Regions from separate parts of the Homo sapiens genome. Here region 2 is linked to region 1. The links are contacts of gene promoters, found by promoter capture Hi-C in human tissues and cell types (Jung and others, 2019). All regions are on one chromosome and are shown on one strand. The core of a region is centred on a gene start or on the middle of the fragment in contact, and the rest is flanking DNA. Distances in the headings are between cores, read along the strand shown. Region 1 holds the start of BHMT2 (betaine--homocysteine S-methyltransferase 2). Region 2 overlaps DMGDH (dimethylglycine dehydrogenase).

What was found. Contacts are between HindIII fragments. The study calls those that stand out against the background at their distance.
Region 2: a fragment that was not itself captured here is called in contact with the fragment with the promoter of BHMT2 in region 1 in 2 of the 25 tissues and cell types used here (liver and mesendoderm cells).

Annotation. Positions count from the first base shown.
Region 1 is chr5:79,068,416-79,071,115 of GRCh38, forward strand. It overlaps BHMT2 (betaine--homocysteine S-methyltransferase 2), which reads left to right and starts at 1,352. Exons shown (of 8, transcript NM_017614.5): 1 at 1,352-1,400. The coding sequence starts at 1,368. It overlaps DMGDH (dimethylglycine dehydrogenase), which reads right to left and starts at 1,259. Exons shown (of 16, transcript NM_013391.3): 1 at 1,105-1,259. The coding sequence starts at 1,205. The HindIII fragment of the contact is 19,729 bases long and covers 1-2,700 here.
Region 2 is chr5:79,020,542-79,023,241 of GRCh38, forward strand. The region is part of intron 14 of DMGDH (dimethylglycine dehydrogenase); the gene reads right to left. Among named protein-coding and RNA genes, the nearest start is that of ARSB, 37 kb to the left of the region's middle. RefSeq lists an enhancer at 1,162-1,663. The HindIII fragment of the contact is 5,347 bases long and covers 1-2,700 here.

The sequences.
Region 1 (2,700 bases), core at 102-2,601:
AGCAAAATTAGTATCCTCATTTTATAGATGAGGAAACTGAACCTCAGAAGTGTAAGGTCACATTCTGTGTAACAGATGGCGCAGGAACTGTGAGTTGGTGGCTACTGCATTCCCAGTACTGGAGACAAACCTAGCACATCACAACACCCAGTAAATATTTGTTGAATGGATAGATGGAACTCAAAAGCAGGTCTTCTGATTCCAGAATTTCAGGTCATAGGACATAAAATAAAATTCGAATCAACTCATAATAATGTTGAGTGATGCTGATAAACAAGCCTTTCCTGGCAACCAGGAATAATCTACAAATATAAGAAGTCGAAAGATGTTCAGCATTGCTCATATTTAAATACAGACCAATCAAAACAAGGACATGCCATTTTTACCTATCAGATTTAGCAAAGATAACAAAATGGGCTATTCTGGGAACCAGGGAAGATGTGGGAAACAGACACACACTGGTGTGCCGCATGCAAACTCTTGCCACCCACTTGGAGAATGTGTTGCTGTCTTTCAATCTTTCAGATGCACGTAACCTTTTCCCTAACAAGTTCACCTTTAAAAACTGTTGCTACCGACTCCCATATGTACTCAAAGATAGATGCCTAAGAATTTTCACATGCACGTTATTTGCAGTAATAAACAACCAAAAACCATTTAAATGTTAATGAATAGACTAACGATAGTGTAGAATATTGACAGGATGGAAAACTATGCAGCCATTAAAAGGAACAAGGCAAGTCAGTGTGTGCTGATATGGAACAATCTCCAAGATATATTGATAATTGTAAAAAGCAAGATGTCAAAAAGCCAAAGGAAAACCTATACTGACCTGTGTTTGCCTATGCGTAGACTGTCTCTGGTTAGATTCAGAAGACACTATTAACAATTGTTCACTGGCCAAGGGGATTGGGGCAGGAGAGACTTTACACGGGGAACCTTTGGATACTGTTTCACTTTATAATTAAAAGATAATTCGAGAAGATATATCAAGGCCTATTTCTTGGAGGCCAGAGCGCTCCTAACCCCTGAGCCTGCCTCAGCCTCTGGCTCCCACCCCCGCAGCCGCCCCGTCGCCTCTGAGCAGGACGGGGCCCCACTCACCCTTCCCGGCCGCAGACAGAGCGCGGGCGCCCGGGGGAGCCCTGCAGCGGGCAGCTCCGCAGCAGGAGGCCCCGCAGCAGCTGCGCGCCGGGACGGAGCATGACTAGGCCGAGGCCGAGGGCGCAGGCGCCTGCTCCGAGGCCAGCGGGCAGCCTGAGGCCGCGGGGCCGGCGGGGCGGGGGTCGGATCCTCCCCCCGGGCTGGGGGCGGGCTCCTAGACGGCCGCGCGCCCGGGAACCCGGCGCCCACAGAGCCGCGGCACCATGGCACCTGCTGGACGCCCGGGGGCCAAGAAGGTGAGTTTCGTCCCCTCGATCCTCGCGGAGCTCCTGGCCGCTGGGCTGCGAGCGACTCCGTTCACACCCGGCGTCCATCCCTAGCCAAGCCCTGGGGCCTCGGCAAAACACTTGGACGGGATGGCCCTGAGCCTCAATTTTCCCCTGTCACGGGTTGGTTAGCGTTTATGGAGCCCTTACTCGGTGCCTGGCGCTGCACAGAGTGCTGTGCTCAAGTTATCTCCTCATCTTCACAATTATCCCCATTTCACAGGTGAGGAAACTGAGGCTCGGCGAGTCAGGCGACTAGCTCAGGGTCACGGGTCCAGCCCCGCGGGGAGCGAGGATCAGAAGTCTAGCTTTCGGACGCATGTCGCGCACACATTTTCTTCCCTCAACCGACCCTCGCCCGCAGCTCTTTGGGCTAATCCGTCCGGGAACTCTTCGGACTGTCCCCTCGCGTTTTGGAAAAGTCAGCAGCCTGGCCAAGCAGCCTGGCCTTGCGAGTCGCCGGCTGGTCTGAAACTAGTCCTGGGCAAGGACGCCCCCAGAGCTGCGGTGCAGGGTGGAGGGTAGGTGGGATTCGCTAGCACCCCTCAACCTCCTCTCACCCGGTGGTCCCCAGCTCCTGGCCCCTTTCCTGGTCTGGTCACCAGATGTTGGCTTTATGCCCAGCCATTTCTACGTCGAGTATGTGTGGGGGTGGGATGAAGGAGTGACTAAGCAAAATTAGGAAGGGCATGAGCTTGGACGAAAGACATCCCCAGGACCCTTCAGAGACCCCCACCCGCTCCAGCCCTGTCATTCAGAATGGGAGGAAGGGAGGAGGGGCAGTTTATGCGTGGAAATGTGCACCACCGAGCTATTTATACTAAAAAGTTAGAAACGACCAAGATACTCTGCAATACGGGATTCTAAATAAATTAAGGTTCATCTACTTAAGTTATTAGACAGTTAAATAACTTAGTATGAGAACCAGCTAAGTGCCTTGGCAATGTTAAGTTGCAAAAGGAAATATATCACAAACTGATCCCAACCATATACAAATATTTATATACACACTGTAAGGAAGGACACAATAATGGTAATAGTTACACAAGATGTGGAATATTGGTTTAAAAAGCATGTTTTAGGATATTTTTTCAGGTTATAAAAGCAAAATGTGAGCATTGAAAGAATACAGTTAATAAAAATAATCAAAGAACATTGTGCTTTTTTCTCTCAACTTTCTCTAATGCTATGTTCATCTTTACAGTTCATATTTTTAAACGTTTTTAAAATGCCCTGTTTTTGTTCAGTGTCTTTGGGGCCTCTACTGTTA
Region 2 (2,700 bases), core at 201-2,700, 48 kb before region 1:
CTAAGCGCTTTGCCTCTTTACCAGCTTTTTTGGGTTGTTTTGTTTTTGGTTATCGAACAGTTATGCTTTAAATATTTCTTCCAAAAGAGACCCTGCATTTTCTAGAATCAACATTGTCTTATAACTTATGTTTAATAGAGATTACATTTTATTCTGTTTCTACTAGTTAGAAGCTCTACACGGGGAGAGAGGGGAAGGAGAGAGAAAAAGGGAAAGAGAGGGAGAAGGAGAGAGTGAGAAAAAGAGGGAGAAACATATTATAGAAAACAAATTCTTCTGATGTGCTTCAACACATTACGTTTAATACTTGAGTCTCTGTGAATCTTCGTGGAGGTTCTCCAGAAATGGACAAAAATTCAATATTTCCACCATGAAAATTCCAGGAATGCCTATGACTCCATCCAAAGGCAGCTGATTTTCCTTTTGCTCTTGATTAATGCATTTCTTCCATCTCCAACTAAACAAAGGCTACTGATTTTCCTCCCAAAAGTTACTTCCTTTGGAACATACCAAAAATACCATTGAGAACAATGATATGAGTCGTTTCAGGTGAAGCGTTTTTAGTTAAGAAGATTTTAAAAGTACAGATTCAATTATTTTTACCGCAGCTTTGGTCAAGGCTTCCTGAAGTGGCTCTACGGAGCACTTCCCACAAGATGGCAGTGTTGTATGCGGCTGGAGAGCCCTCCACTTGCGGAAGGGTTATCTTCACAATTACGGCTAAGAACGTATCCCTACAGCTTTAGTTCCTGAAATATTATTTGTTTCCAGGTTCATGAGATCTGAGAGCCATCAGGAGTATATCTTTAACATTTAGATCTATGGGTTAGCAAGGTGTCTAATCAGCGGTACTTAATAAATGTCTACTAGATGAACGGATGAATGAATGATACATGTGTATCAACTTCACATAAGCCAACAGCAGGGGAAGGAGGCTGGAACAACTCCAAGACGGAAGGAAGCAAGGGCCACTGCGCCGTCTCCCTTTGTGATGAAAGAGTTCTTCAGTACTCCATTGTTCTTTTCCCTACTTGCTGACAGGTTTTGACAAGAACACGATTCACCCTAATAAGGCCTGATGGCCCATCTGCTCACCCAGCCATTTTCCTCCTTAAAATGGGCAAAGCAGCTATTCTGATCCTATCATAAAACACAAAATTAGTTACAGCAAAAACATGTGGGGGAAGTGTCTATTAATAAAAGGTAGTCCATACAAACAATATATGTTACCAGAGAGAGAAATTCTTGGGCAGTCTTTCAAGTCTGATAAGCCCACTGTGGAAAAGGACTTTGTGGGGGAAAGTGGTGGGTGGGAAAGCTCCACGATGAGGTCAGAGGGTGGCGTTCGACCTAAGCTAAAGCAGTGGCCTCCCCCAGGTCACTTTCCCTCTCTGTGCTTCAGTTTCCTCTGCTTCAGATGGGGGAGGGGAGTACCAGCTGATCCCCAGGGACCCATCTAGCTCTGATACAGTCAGCTTCTACCTTTTCTTCACATTATGGCTTAAACGATCATAGTGTAAATGCCTAAGGGCCAACCAGAGAATTCTAAATGTTTGCTCTGAAGGGAAAGAAATAACTGATTTCAAACAATTGTAAAATGCCAGGGTTTTTGCTGTGTTTGTTTTGGTATCAAATATAAATATCTCTCTGTATTAGCTGTTGCTTCTGTTCTCCTATAGCATCGATTTTCCGAAGCAATTATAGGCTTACAGTATTTAAAATGTTGTATGAAGCTAGTTTGGGTAACATTTTGGTTTTTAGGCACAGGACTTGAATGGTCAAGTTACAAAGCTTAGTTTGTAATGTTAATAAGGTTTCCAGGCATCCGTTTCACATTATAGACTGCTACAAAACCACCAAAGTTGATCTAATCTATTCACCTGTCTTGGAGATTAGCAAGCATCATTATGAGTAGGTTAATACCAACTAGCCACTTGAATTGACATAATTGAAAAAGACTGGCTCAGTTGGGGGCCAGGTCCTTGGGCTACAAGGACCTTTACCCTATAAAATCATTAGGAATTAACTTTGTGACACTTGAATGAGAAACAACAATTCAGAAATTATAAAAACATGCCAGAAATCAAAATTAGTATCTTCTAAACAACTAACTACGTTCTGAGATGAGCTTTGGTTATTTGGCTGTATAACTTAACTAACAAAGACACAATCCACCCCTGCTAATAATCATAAAAGATATTTGAAAATCCCATTTCAATACGAAGGGATTATTTATCTATGCCTTATCCCCAAACAATAATATCCGAACACTGAAGCAAAAGAATCAGTTATCTATCTACCTACTGGTGACCAATAACAGAAATTTAGCACTTTCAAGAGTTGGGCCATTTTTAACCTTATTTGAAACAGCTAAAGTAAGGCTTCTGCTATCAGAGGGAGCAATCTGCTGCTAGGGTCTGCCCAAATTCCAAGCACCTGCTTTCTCTGGTCTGGAGGCAGATGGTACATCATAAAAATAAAAGCCATGGGGAGAATGTACAGAAAGATATTCCCTTTAAAACCCTTTAGGAGGTTCGTTTTCCTAAAATCTCATACTATAAATACACATGTTTTATTTTAATATTATAGCTCAGAATTTGGGAACTGACACAGGGTCATGAAAAAGGTTTCCTTGGCCTGATTGAGTCATATACATGTATTCACGTATTTCCACAGGATGGGAAATCAGTCTTTAGTTTA